Linked DNA regions of Homo sapiens: all the other regions are linked to region 4. The links are contacts of gene promoters, found by promoter capture Hi-C in blood cells and fetal thymus (Javierre and others, 2016). All regions are on one chromosome and are shown on one strand. Each heading gives the region's core, a stretch centred on a gene start or on the middle of the fragment in contact. The rest is flanking DNA. Distances are from core to core; before and after follow the strand shown.

Region 1 (2,700 bases), core at 126-2,625, 2.9 Mb after region 4:
AAGCTTTCCCCAAAGCCCCTGCCACACTGGAAACCTTCCCAGAAGCCCCGAGCAAACATTACTTTATGTGTCATTGGCCAGACAGCTACAAGCCTGCCCCTAAACCAATAACCAACAAGGAGAATGAGATTTCCATGATAGGGTTAGACTAACCAGAATTTATCTGGGCTGAAGTGTATTTGGTTATTGGAACAAATTAGGGTTCCATTAACATGAAAGATGGGGGAAATGATTATTGAGTGGGCTGGTAGTCTCTAAGGTGATCCAGTTAGACAACTCTAGGCTGGGCTGCTTACATGCTAGCATTGGTTGGTTTAGCACTATCTTTTTTTAAAAGCTAGCTTTCATTGTACTTTTCAAAAATATTTTAACGATTTTTTGGGTGTATGATTCAGTGGCATTAAGAATACTCACTATGTTGTGTAAACCACCCCTATCCAATTCCAGAATTTTTCATTGTCCCAACAGAAACTCCGTGCCCATTAAAAATAATTCCCCATTTCCCTGTTCCCCTTCCTTTTGGTACCTGGCAATGGCCACTCTATTTCCTATCTCTATGAATCTGCCTATTCTAATTACCTCACATAACTGGAATCACATAGTATTTGTCCTTTTGTGTCCTGCTTATTTCACTTAGCAAAATGTTCTCAAGGTTCATTCATATTCTAGCATGTGTCATAATCTTATGATTTTTATGGTTGAATAATAATACTCTATTGTGTGTATACACACATGCACACACACACATACACACACACACGCACACGATATTTTGTTTATCATTAATCTACCAATAGACTTTGTGTTCTACTTTTTGGCTATTGTGAATGATGTTATGGTGTACATGGGTATATAGTATCTACTTAAGTCCCTTTTTTTAGTACTATCTTTAATCTCACTGAAACTTAGGGACAAACGGGATGTTCTTAACCTGTTGCAGATGTTTTATAAGTGATAAAGCATCTGTAAAGTACTGAATATAGAGCACATCACAGGTGCTTCAGAAGTGACACCTGCTGCCATGGTCTGGTCTTTATTGCTGTTTTGTTTGTTATTGTTAGAACACAGAGGCAGAGCTCAAAAAAGGGATTCCTAGCTCAGCCTGAGGATTCAGAAGTATGCAAGCTGTGCTTTGAAGATCAGTTAAGAGTAGTATGTATATCAGTTTGCTAGGGCTGCCATATCAAAGTACCACAGACTGGAGTGGCTTAAACAACAGAAATTTATTTTCTCACAGTTCTGGAGTCTGCAAGTCCAAGATCAAGGTGTCAGTAGGGTTAGTTTCTTCTGAAACCAACCTTGGATTATACTTGGCCATCTTCTCCCTGTGTCTTTCTGTGGTCTTCCTTCTCTGTGTGTCTGCATCCTAATCTCTTCTTCTTATAAGGACATCAGTTATAATGGATTAGGGCCCATCCATATGACCACATTTTACTTTAATCAGCCCTTTGAAGACTCTATCTCCTAATATAACCATATTCTGAGGTGCTGGAAGTTAGGACTTCAGCATATGAATCTGCAGGGAGAAAAGAGCCCACAGCCACATCATAGGGCCTGGTGACTACTGATCTTTTGAAGGAGTTGCCAGCAATCTAAATGATTGACTGAAGAGAAGGGGTCAGATCAGATCTGAGTTTTCTACCTATCAGTCGGGAGCATGGTGGAGGCTGGGTTGAAGGGAGGAAGGGCGGAACACTAGAAACAAGTTGGAGGGTTATGATTATTGTTCAGATATCATCATATGATTCAGGCTAGAACTAAAATAGTGGGTGTATGGGAAAAAAGTTTGGAAAGCAACACCTTAGTGTTAGATTGATTATGAAAATAAGGAAAAGGCGCCGGGCACAGTGGCTCATGTCTGTAATCCTAGCACTTTGGGAGGCCAAGGTGGGTGGATCACTTGAGGTCAGGAGTTCGAAACCAGCCTGGCCTACATGGTGAAACCCCATGTCTACTAAAAATACAAAAATTAGCCAGGCGTGGTGGTGGGCGCCTATAATCCCAGCTGCCTTGGGAGGCTGAGGCAGAAGAATCACTTGAACCCAGGGGGCGGAGGTTGCAGTAAGCCAAGACCACGCCACTTCACTCCAGCCTCAGCAAAAGAGTGAAACTCTGTCTCAAAAATGCAATAATAATAAGGAAAAGGAAAGAGCATTTGTTAATGGTTTGGGCAACAGGGTATGACACTGTTCTTGAAAAAGAGGAAGCTATTTGAAGAATGGGTTCAGCAGGAAGAGCAAGTGCTATGTTCTCTTTTGCACAGGTCATAATTGACAAATACAAGACATTTGAGGGGGACTGTCTACTAGTTGGTTACCTATAAATAAGGATTTAGTGTTTACGTGTGAGGTCAGTAGAAATAGAAATTTTTAAAAATCACAATGAAAAATGGATTAATGGGTATGGGTGAAACTACCCAGAGGGTATATACAGAGGGCTCAGGCCTATACCCTGGAGGAGCTAATGCTTAAGAAATGAGCACACTAATAGTTAATAACTAATGAACAAATAAACAAGAAGTGACCAGAGATGGGCAGGAGGAGACAGAGACATAGAGCCCCATCATGACACACAGAAGAATGTGAAGCACAAGTCAGTAGCGTCCAGTGTGACAGAGAGGACAGACACTGGCAGTTAATCAGTTGTTGGTACTTTAGTGAGAGCAGTTTGTGGCCAAAACCAGATGAATATGAATTAAGA
Region 2 (2,700 bases), core at 142-2,641, 2.9 Mb after region 4:
TCTTTGTCTTGGCTGTTCTTGTTCTTTGTCTTGGATGGGTCTTCTTTGATTCCATATGTAATTTAAAGTAGTTTTTCCTAATTTTGTGAAGAATGTCAATGGCAGTTTGATGGGAATAGCAGTGAATCTATAAATTACTGTGGGCAGTATGGCCATTTTCATGATATTGGTTCTTCCTATCCATGAGGATGGAATGTTTTTCCATTTGTTTGTGTCCTATCTTATTTCCTTGAGCAGTGGTTTGTAGTTCTCCTTGACGCGGTCCTTCACATCCCTTGTTAGTTGTATTCCTAAGTATTTTATTCTCTTTGTAGCAATTGTCAATGGGAGTTCATTTATGATTTGGCACTCTGCTTGTCTATTGTTGGTATAAAGGAATGTTTGTGATCTTTTCACATTGATTTTGTGTCCTGAGACTTTGCTCAAGTTGCTTATCAGCTTAAGGAGTTTTTGGGCTGAGATGATGGGCTTTTCTAAGTATAGAATCATGTCTTCTGCAAACAGAGACAATTTGACTTCCTCTCTTTCTATTTGAGTATGTTTATTTCTTTCTCCTGCCTAATTGCCCTGGCCAGAGCTTCTGATACTATGTTGAATATGAGTGATGAGAGAGGGCATCCTTGTCTTGTACCGGTTTTCAAAGGGAATGCTTCCAACGTTTGCCCATTCAATATGATATTGGCTATGGGTTTGTCATAAATAGCTCTTGTTATTTTGAGATATGTTCCATCAATACCTAGCTTATTGAGAGTTTTTAACATGAAGGGATGTTGAATTTTATCAAAGGCTTTTTCTACATTTATTGAGATAGTCATGTGGTTTTTGCCTTTGGTTCTATTTATGTGATGGATTACATATATTGATTTGTATATGTTGAGCCAGCCTTGCATCCCAGGGATGAAGCTGACTTGATTGTGGTGGATGTGGTTTTTGATGTGCTACTGAATTCACTTTGCCAGTATTTTATTGAGGATTTTCACATCGATGTTCATCAGGGATATTGGCCTGAAGTTTTCTTTTTTTGTTATGTTTCTGCCAGATTTTGGTATCAGTATGATGCTGGCTTCATAAAATGAGTTAGGGAGGAGTCCCTCCTTTTCAATTGTTTGGGGTAGTTTCAGAAAGAATGGTACCAGATCCTCTTTGTACCTCTGGTAGAATTCGGCTGTGAATCTGTCTGGTCCTGGGCTTTTTTTGGTTGGTAGGCTATTAATTACTGCCTCAATTTCAGAACTTGTTATTGGTTTATTCAGGGATTCAACTTCTTCCTGGTTTAGTCTTGGGAGGGTGTATGTGTCCAGGAAGTTATCCATTTCTTTTATATTTTCTAATTTATTTGCATAGAGGTGTTTATATTATTCTCTGATGGTAGTTTGTATTTCTGTGGGGTCAGTGGTGATATCCCCTTTATCATTTTTTATTGTGTCTATTTTATTCTTCTCTTTCCTTTTTAGTTAGCCTAGCTAGCAGTCTATCTATTTTGTTGATCTTTTTCAAAAAAAAAAAAAACAGCTCCTGGATTCGTTGATTTGTTGGAAGGATTTTTGTGTCTTTATCTCCTTCAATTCTGCCCCGATCTTAGTTATTTCTTGCCTTCTCCTAGCTTTTGGATTAGTTTGCTCTTGCTTCTCTAGTTATTTTAATTGTGATGTTAGGGTATCGATCTGAGATCTTTCTAGCTTTCTGATGTGGGCATTTAGTACTATAAATTTCCCTCTTAACACTGCTTTAGGTGTGTCCCAGAGATTCTCGTATGCTGTCTGTTTATTCTATTGGTTTCAAAGAACTTCTTGATTTCTGCCTTAATTTCATTATTTACCCAGGAGTCACTCAGGAGCAGGTTGTTCCATTTCCATGTAATTGTGTGGTTTTGAGTGAGTTAGTTAATCCTGAGTTCTAATTTGATGGCACTGTGGTCTGAGAGACTATTTGTTAATGATTTCAGTTCCTTTGCATTTGCTGAGGAGTGTTTTACTTCCAATTATGTGATCAATTTTAGAGCAAGTGTCATGTGGCACTGAGAAGAATGTATACTCTGTTGATTTGGGGTGAAGAGTTCTGTAGATGTCTATTAGGTCCACTTGATCCAGAGCTGAGTTCAAGTCCTGAATATCCTTGTTAATTTTCTATCTCATTGATCTGTCTAATATTGACTGGGGTGTTAAAGTCTCCCACTATTATTGTGTGAGAGTCTAAGTTTCTTTGTAGGTCTCTAAGAACTTGTTTTATAAATCTGGGTGCTCTTTGATTAGGTGCATTTATATTTAGGATAGATAGCTCTTCTTTTTGAATTGATCCCTTTACCATTATGTAATGCACTTCTTTGCCTTTTTTGATCTTTGTTGGTTTAAAGCCTGTTTTTTCAGAGACTGGGCCAGAGATAATTTTTAAAATCAGAAATAAAAATGTTTTAATGCTCCTAAAAGGGCTGGGACCTTCTGCCTGGGTAATTTCTAGTCCTAAATTGGCCCTCTTTCCGGGTCATTCAGATCCTGGCTTATGTACTCCTCAGTCCCCTCTAGCTGTGCTCTCTTTCCAGCCTCTCCTGAAACACATTCCAGCCCAAGATCTCACAAGCATTTTAATTCATCGATTTGGGTGAAAGCAAAGGACATGTATATTCAGCGTGCCTGTCTCCAGCACTCCACAGGAGACAGCAGTGCCCCTAGTTACATTCATGCCATGGGCATTAATCAGCCT
Region 3 (2,705 bases), core at 190-2,689, 3.0 Mb after region 4:
TCGCAGTACCGTCTGCAGCTGCCATTTGCTTAGTCTGGGAGATGTCCAATTCCTCCCTCAGAAGAGAATCACGCTTTCATTTTCCCTTTGAGGTAGCATGTCCCAAATTACACAGCCAAGGTCTTCATCCCAGGGGGGAGGTTTATTCTCCACAGGATCTGCAGACAGTGAGAAAATGCATCTGATCTTGAAAACTGTGGTTGAACAATTGTGTAAATGTAATTGAAATTCATGTTTTTCCAGATGAAAATGGACCTCCATTCACAACATGGGATTGAATGGGTTTAGGAGATTCAGAAAATCTTGGGTTGTCTGATAATTTCCCAATATTGCTTTACTTCTCCTCCTCCTCTTCCTCCTCCTCCTTCCTCCTACTCCTCCTCCTCCTCTTCTCTTACCTTGGTCCTATTTGGGACAAAAAAAAAATCCCTGGGTCAGAAATTTTACCCTTTCCCATAAACATGACTTTTTGAACCTCCCAAGAGGCAGAAACGAAGCCAAATGTGATTACTCAGCCTCTAAAGTTTCATCATGTAGTGATTCATCAAAGGAGCTGAAGGTACTGCGCATTGCTGAACTTGAATATGCCTTCTGAGAGGCTCCTACCATGTTGCTTTCATGAAGAAATAGTGATCCTTGAAAGGGAATTTCACACTGGAACAGAGCAACTGTGCTGCCTGCTTTCTCTGTGTTCCCTCGATCAGGACTGATAACTCCCTGCATAAGTTTAATCCCACCTTTCCTCTTCTTCTCTCTCTCACATTAGCAATTCTTATGGAAACGATGCAACCCTTGCCTATGTTATGCCTGCCTAGTAATAATTTTTAGGATCATTTTCAAAGATCCTGGGGCCAGCAAAATTTTTACCGTTTAAAGTCTGTTTGGCCACTGGCCAAGTGACCTTGGGCGAGTCAGTTAATTTCTCTGAGCCTCTAACTCAGGAACTCTCAGTCTTGACTGTACATGAAAATTACCTGGGAAACATTAAATACTGATGCCTGGGCCTCGTATTTAGAGATGTTGATCTGTTTGGCTTGGGACTGACCCAGCATCTGTATTTGGAAAGCTTCCTAAAGCATGTCCTTGGGGTGCAGCCAAGGTTGCTAGCCACTTCCCCAAGTCCTTGTTTATCAAAATGTGATTCCTAAACTGGCAGCATCAGTATCACCTGTTAAAAAAATGAAGAATCACAGGTCCTACCCCAGGCCTGCAGCATCAGAACCTGCATTTCAACAAGATCCCAGGTGATTCGTAGGTACATCATGCTAAGAGAAGCACAGCTCAAATCCTTGTCTGTTAAAGGTGGATGATAATAGTCAATATGCAATGAGCTCTGTGCTCCATGTTTTTCCCTGTGTAATCTCAAAAAGGTACAGAGGAGAAACTGCATATTCACCTATATATCTCTTGAGACCTTAGCCTATTTCAAAAAGCTCTGGATACGAGATCTAGTGGGTTTGTTGGGTTGATTGCTGTCCTTTTATGTGGTTTTCTTAAGAGGCTGATTGTTACATTGATATAACCATATAAGACTGTTCTACGAGTTTAGTATCTTCCTCTGATCTCAGAAATTGGGCCTCCCTCCAAATATTTAATAAAAAAATTTGCCTCCTTTTTCTATCACATTTTAGATTGATTTGGAGGGTGCTACATCAACTCTAACTGGCAGATTTAAGAAACTGTATGCAGTGATTTTTAGGATGGGGACTAGTACAATAGGTAAACCAGAGTTGGGGTCAGCTAGTCAGACAAGTTTCTTTGCAGCAATCAGCAAACTATGACCTACGGGCCGAGCCACCTATTTTAATAAATAAAGCTTTATTGGAACACAGCCCTGCTCATTCATTTAGATATTGTCTAATGCTGTACTGACAGTACAATAGCAGCACTTAGTCATCTCGATAGAGACCCTATGGTCTGCAAAGCCTAAAATAATACTACCTATCCTTTCAGAGAGGAAGTTTGCCCGTCCCTGATTTACAGCAACCCCTAAATGAGGCCAGGGTTGAGTGATTGCTGACCATCTGGGCCCATATTTTTAGTTGGTTCCATAGCCCAGTGTACACCCCTAATCCCAAGCAGATTTTAAGCAGCTGTGTGGTTACATGGAGTCAGGCAGAGGGCCCAGAACTGATCTATCTGCATTGTAGCCACAAATAAGAACAAAGAGAGGTTCATCCTTGTCCACGGACAGCAGCATTTGTCTGTCAAGTTGTTGGAAGTATTGCTTGAGTGTCCACCTAAAATGGACCCTTCATAAATTCATGCATTTCCAAATAGTATGAGAAAGGATCCTAGTATGAAAATTCTGAGTTAAACCTGGGAATACAAAGATTTTTAGGCAAGATGGAAAGCAAGGATCACTACTTAGGAAAAGTAAAAGGTGAATTAATTTGGGTACCAGTCTTTTTCAAGCAAGAGATTTCTTCCTCAGGGAAAGTTTTAAGCATTGGAATATAGATATTAAGCCAATTTTGGATTATATCAAAGAGTTCGTCAACTAAAAACATGTGCTCTTCTCTCTCTTTTTTTCTTCTCGTCAATAAGCGATGGAGAAATCTAAAGTCATGTAAGATTTTATTTCTGTTCTCCATCTGAGTCTCAGTCATTGCAAACTATGAGGCAGTAATGCTTTGTGCAACAGGAATTAAAGAAGGGAGAGGTGGATAAGAGCAGGCTGGAAGAATCTCCCCGAACAGGTTCTA
Region 4 (2,700 bases), core at 165-2,664:
GATGAACAATCTTACTCACAACATCCCCCCGCCTCAACCATTCTAATTTGAAACAGAAGATAAAGTTTTAAAGAAAAAGGCATTGACATATTAGTCAATGCCGACCAAAAGTAACGTAAAATTAGACTTGTAATAAAATTAGCAGTGTTTTCCTCTTTGAAACGTTCATAAATGACTATATTACAGAAATATTAGATATTGTAAAATTTCAGATTTGGCCTTTTATTTTGATTTACAAAGAAAGGAATATCTAGAAACTAGACTCAATAAAAAAAAGAGTAGCAAAACTTTAATCCACTATTTTTTATGTCATCACTAGTTTGACAATTGGATTTAAGCAAAGCATGATAAAATAAGTCAAAGACAGTAAATGACAATACTGTCAAGGTTTGAATGTCAAAAATTTTAACATTGGGGCATTAAAGACATCCTTTGGTAATGTGTGTTTTACAGTTGACTTGTACAATCACGAACCAGTGATATGTGCTTTGCAGTAGCTACTTACTAGATTTAAACCAATTTATAATTGCTGTATTTCTCGTAAATGTTATGAATCCTCACTTTTAACAATTATGTTTCTGAGAATTCCGGAATTTCCTGAACCACAATGTGAAGAAGGAGGTGCTCCTGATTGGGCTTCTTTTCTCAGCTTTGTGGTTGTTTATGAGGTTCTTTCCGAGCTATGCTATTTCTACTGGAGAACCCAGAGTTCTTACTAAATGCAGCTGGGCATGAGAGGGGAGGCTCAGGTACTGCAGCTGTGAAACCTCTGCTCGGGCATGCGTTTTGGTTTACACGCGGCCAGGTTAAGGAAACACATTGCCACGAAGTGTGCATTCACAAGAGTGTCGGGTGTAATGTATTTATTTCTGGGTCTCAAACGATCTTTGCAGCGAGTAATTCTGTTTCGATGTTAAAGTCACTGGATTTTACTTCTCTGGTTCCGGTTGGCCTGGAGCAGGCCCCTAATTACCTCGGAAACCCACCAAGGGCCGGTAAAGTAATAAACTGTGATCGCACAGCGTACACGTCGAGTCCCAGGGAGAGCAGGGCTCCCAGGAAGCCCCGGGAAGCGTGCGCTTCCAGGAGGGTGTGCGGCGCGCGGGGGTCTGCACGCGCGCAGAGCTTGTTAACGGAGGGCGTGCCGGAGGCGTGGCGCGAGGTGTTCGGGCGAGGCGCTCCGCGAGGCTGGCGGCGGTGGGCGGGCCACGGGGGAGCGCGGCCCGGGGAAGGCTGCGCGGCGCCGCCAGCGGCTCCCGGCTCCCGCTCTCCCGGCCGCCAAGAACGAGCCGCCGTGGGCGGGGCCTGCGGTGATTGGCGGGCGGGCGGGGAGGTCGGAAGTACTTTGTTTTTTATGCTAATGAGGGAGTGGGGCTTGTCCGTATTTACGTTGAGGCGGGAGCCGCCGCCCTTCATTCACCCACATGGTCCTTCGAGGTGCCGCCGCCGCCGCCCGACCTGCGCCTTCGCGCCACTTCGCGCCCTCGGGCGAGGCCGAGGGGGTGGGGACGACTACCGCAGCGCCGCCGGGGCTCGCGCTCCTCCGCGAAGCTCTCCTCGCGGGGCGGGCCGGCCGGCCGCACCCCCGGCCTGGGGCCTCCGGTCGTAGTAAAGCGCAGGCGGGCGGGGAGGCGGGAGCAGGAGCCCGCGGCCGGCCAGCCGAAGATGGTGGCGGCTACTCCTCCTGGTGAGTCTGCCCGCCCCTCCGGCGACGGAGGGAAACCTGTTGTGTGCGGCCCGGGTCTGGCGGGCGGGGCGGAGCGGCCCGGGGCGGACTGGCCCGGGGCAGCGTGGCGGCGGCGGCGTGGCCGGGGCGGGTCTCGGCCGTTGGCCGCCCCGGCGTGTGGCAGCCGCATCTGGCTGCCCCCTCGCTCGCCCGCGGGCCGGCGGAGGGGGGCAGGGCCGGGGCGGGAGGGTGGGAGGGGGCGGCGTGCGCGTGGCGGCCGCGCCCGGGACCCGCGCAGACCCTGCCTGGGCCGACCCGAAGGCGGGTGGGCGGACGGCGAACACAATGGCCCCTCGGGGAGAGGACGTGCGAGGCCCGTGCCTTCTCCGGGGCCCGGGGCGCGCGCGGGGCGTGGGGTCTCTGGGTAGGAAAGTTTCTCCCGAGGGCGAGAGTTAAAGCGCCTCCAGAACAAAGCGGCGGCGGCGGCGGCACATGGGGCAGGCCGCGGGCCGGGAGGGGGCGCGCCCACGAGGTACCTGCGCGCCAGCGGGCGGCGTGGCGTGGGCGGGAGCCCGCGGTTCCCCAAACTTTGTACGCGCGAGGGTGGGCGGAGGGGCGCCGAGATCGGCGCGGCCTGGGCGCCACCCCCGCTCCGCGTGGGCTTTGTTAGCCCGCGTGGGCAGCCTCGGGGCGGGGCCCGCAACTTCCCCGCCGTGGCCCTCGGAGGAGGCCGCAGTCGGCCTCAGCCGCGGCGTGGAGCCGCCTGCGCCCGGCCGCTTGCTGGGAGTGTGGCGCGGGAGGGCCAGCCCGGCTCGGCGGGAGCGGCGTCCCCGCCGCCATGTTCCTGCGGGGCGGGCTGCACGGGGGTGAGGGCGGGGGACATGGCGGCGACTGCGCGCCGCCGCCGATTGTTCCCGGCTTAGGCCTCGGGCCGCGTGCGACGGGCACCGCGGCCGCGGAGCCCCCGCCCCTCTGGGCCGGGCTCGGGGGGGCTGGGGGACACAAAGGAGGGGCGGCGCGCCCGCGTCCCCGCC
Region 5 (2,700 bases), core at 77-2,576, 3.0 Mb after region 4:
TTAATTGCACAGGGCTGTATACCCTGGGGAGAAGGAAGAGTACACTCACTCTGGCTACGTAACTCCCTGGGAGATACTAAAGCCCAGTCCACATCACTGCTTTAAGACATGTTCAGAGAATCATATGGATTCTGACAACGAAATAATGTTATGCAACATGTTTTGGAAGGGGAACAATTTTGCACAACTTAATATTAAGTGTGAGTTATATTAAATCATATTGGGGGCGATTTGTTAACAAAACTCTTTTCAACTCTGGATTAAACTCTCCTTTATCCTCAGAAACACTTAAGCAAGAGCTTTGGTGACCTCTGTATCATAAAAAATGAAATGTTACACTTTCAGAGCCAAAATAGGGCTATTAGAGATTTTATATCTATTTTATGGCATGTTGATATGCTTATTTTCTGCTTCAGGCTTTAAAATTTCTTTCAGAATTCCTAGACTTCAGCTAAACCCAAATTGATGCATTCGGTAGATATCAATCTATCAATAAATTATTGATTGAGTTATTCTCTGTTGCATAGCACTTAGTAAAACTAGCTGCTATGTACAATCTACATTATAGCATGTTGTTAGTGCTGGCGTCATCAAAAGGCAAGTGACTGTTTAGAAAAGCCGTTACTTTCCAAGTCAGTTAGACATGCTATGTCTTCTCCAGAGAACAGTACATAGTATAGAGGCTCATGGAATATTAATATTAGCATACAATAAGTGGGAGTTTGATTTTGCAATCTCAGATTGACTATGCCAAAAAAGAATATGTAGAAGGCATATTAACAAATGAATAATCATTGGCCAAATATGCAAATTAAAAACATTAAACATCTGTAGCGTCCTTAATATAGGCCATGTCTAATAGCTCATTTTCCCTTCTTAAGCCAGAACTTTCTGCCCAAACCTTGAACAAATTAAACAGAAGCTTTGTTGTCAGTTATGAACCAGTCAGATGCAAAAGTCCATCTGCGCACTCGTTTCACGGTAACTGTCCTTTATTCTGCTATGTAATTGGTGTTTTGGTAGATTGATTATGGAAGTCTGGATAGACAAGCCACACTAAACTGCTCAAACCATACCTTTAAAAATATTTGTTCATGAGCCTCATCAGTTGACATAGATCTTTTATTAAATTATTGAATAGATTAAAGAACCTTTTCCTTGTCATGGAAAATCTGCGACAATATTTTCTCTTAGCTGTCTGAGATATTTGCACCACAACTCCCAAATGTGATGTTCATGCTTATGAGAGATAGAGCTGAAGAAATAGGATATTTCATAAATACCAGTTTTGATGTATTTGCTGTATAATCAATCAGCTTCTAACAGACTCTGGGGCCTATGGAATACATTTTAAAGGACTGGGAATTTGGCTATTCCCATAACATACTCGGACACTCTTTACTGCTAGCAATAAACCTCAGACATAAACATTGTAGAGAAAAAACAGATGAAAAGGAACCCATCTGAGTGAAAATTGACTTCCCTTCATAACTGTTAAAGGTAGAAAGCTATTTGCAATACACAATAACTTTATTACTAAGTTCATTCACAGTCATTATCATCAAAGGCTCTGACTTCATGGGTATTTTCTTATACCCATAACACTGGCTGAGCTATCGAAAAATAAAAAGTCAGGTTGATAGTCAATGAATGAACCACCACCAGCAGCAGCTCCATTATATTGCTTACTAACAAATAATTTGTTGGAAGTTGGTTTGTGTGATCTCTGTAGAAGCTTTTCCTATGCTGTATTGATCCAGATGGACCAGGCCAGGCAAGGCCACACCTATAAACAGTCCCCAAAATGGCCCACAACAACACAAGTTTATTTCTTGTATGTGCCAAGTGTTCATTATGCATTGGCTGTGAGTCAGCTACATGTGGTCATCACCCTTACTCCAGCATCCGGGGTGACAGAGCAGCCATTATCTGGAGGTTCACCTGTCACAATGGCAGGGGAAATGGAGAATGTGGCAAAGGTGGCTGTTCATGTCTCTACCTGGAAGGGTCACATCATACTGATCACATCTCATTGGCCAAAGCAAGTCACATTATCAAGCCATCAGGAAGTCAGGGACATATGTTCCTATGTGCCTCACATAGAGAGAGAAAAAGGACATGTTAGTGAACAGTAACATTATCGACCACAAACACTATGATGAAGGCAAGATTTTTAAATTGATAAAAATCCATGTCATTACTTTCTCCAACCCTAAGACAAACCTTACATGAAAAGGAACAGAAAAATCAGTCTTTCCTTTATTCACCATATTTATTGTGCACTAACATGAACCATGCGTAGGTGACTAGACCATAATCGAAGAACTCACAACACTTTAGGGCAAACTTGTCCAACCCACAGCCCATGGCCTGCATGTGGCCCAGGATGGCTTTGAATGCGGCCCAACACAAATTCGTAAACATCCTGAAAACATTATGAGATTTTTTTTTAGCTCATCAGCCATCTTTAGTGTTAGTATATCTTATGTGTGTCCCAAGACAATTCCTCTTCTTCCAAAAAACGGCCCAGGGAAGCCAAAAGATTGGACACCCCCACTTTAGAGGATGACAGGCAAAAATAATTATAATTTAAATCAGACCATGCTCTTGTAAAGATTGCCCTGCAAATGAACCAACTCTTCTATGGTCTTTTGAAAGAACTAACTTAAAAAAAAAAATTTAGAATCCTAGGAGAAATCT

Evidence for each region. Contacts are between HindIII fragments. The CHiCAGO score rates a contact against its expected background, and 5 or more counts as called.
Region 1: a contact is called between a fragment that was not itself captured here and the fragment with the promoter of MIR17HG in region 4, in 2 of 17 cell types (naive B cells and total CD4 T cells). The highest score is 5.7, in naive B cells.
Region 2: a fragment that was not itself captured here is called in contact with the fragment with the promoter of MIR17HG in region 4 in 1 of 17 cell types (naive CD8 T cells); the score reaches 5.6 in naive CD8 T cells.
Region 3: a fragment that was not itself captured here is called in contact with the fragment with the promoter of MIR17HG in region 4 in 9 of 17 cell types (non-activated CD4 T cells, total CD4 T cells, naive CD8 T cells and 6 more); the score reaches 28.5 in non-activated CD4 T cells.
Region 5: a fragment that was not itself captured here is called in contact with the fragment with the promoter of MIR17HG in region 4 in 6 of 17 cell types (total CD8 T cells, naive CD8 T cells, non-activated CD4 T cells and 3 more); the score reaches 21.2 in total CD8 T cells.

The regions. Positions count from the first base shown.
Region 1 is chr13:94,259,156-94,261,855 of GRCh38, forward strand. The region is part of intron 4 of GPC6 (glypican 6); the gene reads left to right. Among named protein-coding and RNA genes, the nearest start is that of GPC6-AS1, 73 kb to the left of the region's middle. The HindIII fragment of the contact is 2,748 bases long and covers 2-2,700 here.
Region 2 is chr13:94,277,882-94,280,581 of GRCh38, forward strand. The region is part of intron 4 of GPC6 (glypican 6); the gene reads left to right. Among named protein-coding and RNA genes, the nearest start is that of GPC6-AS1, 91 kb to the left of the region's middle. The HindIII fragment of the contact is 7,883 bases long and covers 1-2,700 here.
Region 3 is chr13:94,329,406-94,332,110 of GRCh38, forward strand. All of the region lies in intron 6 of GPC6 (glypican 6), which reads left to right. Among named protein-coding and RNA genes, the nearest start is that of GPC6-AS1, 140 kb to the left of the region's middle. The HindIII fragment of the contact is 750 bases long and covers 1,065-1,814 here.
Region 4 is chr13:91,346,273-91,348,972 of GRCh38, forward strand. It overlaps MIR17HG (miR-17-92a-1 cluster host gene), which reads left to right and starts at 1,415. Exons shown (of 3, transcript NR_197388.1): 1 at 1,415-1,687. RefSeq lists enhancers at 904-983, 2,453-2,700 and silencers at 1,084-1,863, 1,914-2,700. The HindIII fragment of the contact is 6,871 bases long and covers 1-2,700 here.
Region 5 is chr13:94,313,505-94,316,204 of GRCh38, forward strand. The region is part of intron 6 of GPC6 (glypican 6); the gene reads left to right. Among named protein-coding and RNA genes, the nearest start is that of GPC6-AS1, 130 kb to the left of the region's middle. The HindIII fragment of the contact is 813 bases long and covers 921-1,733 here.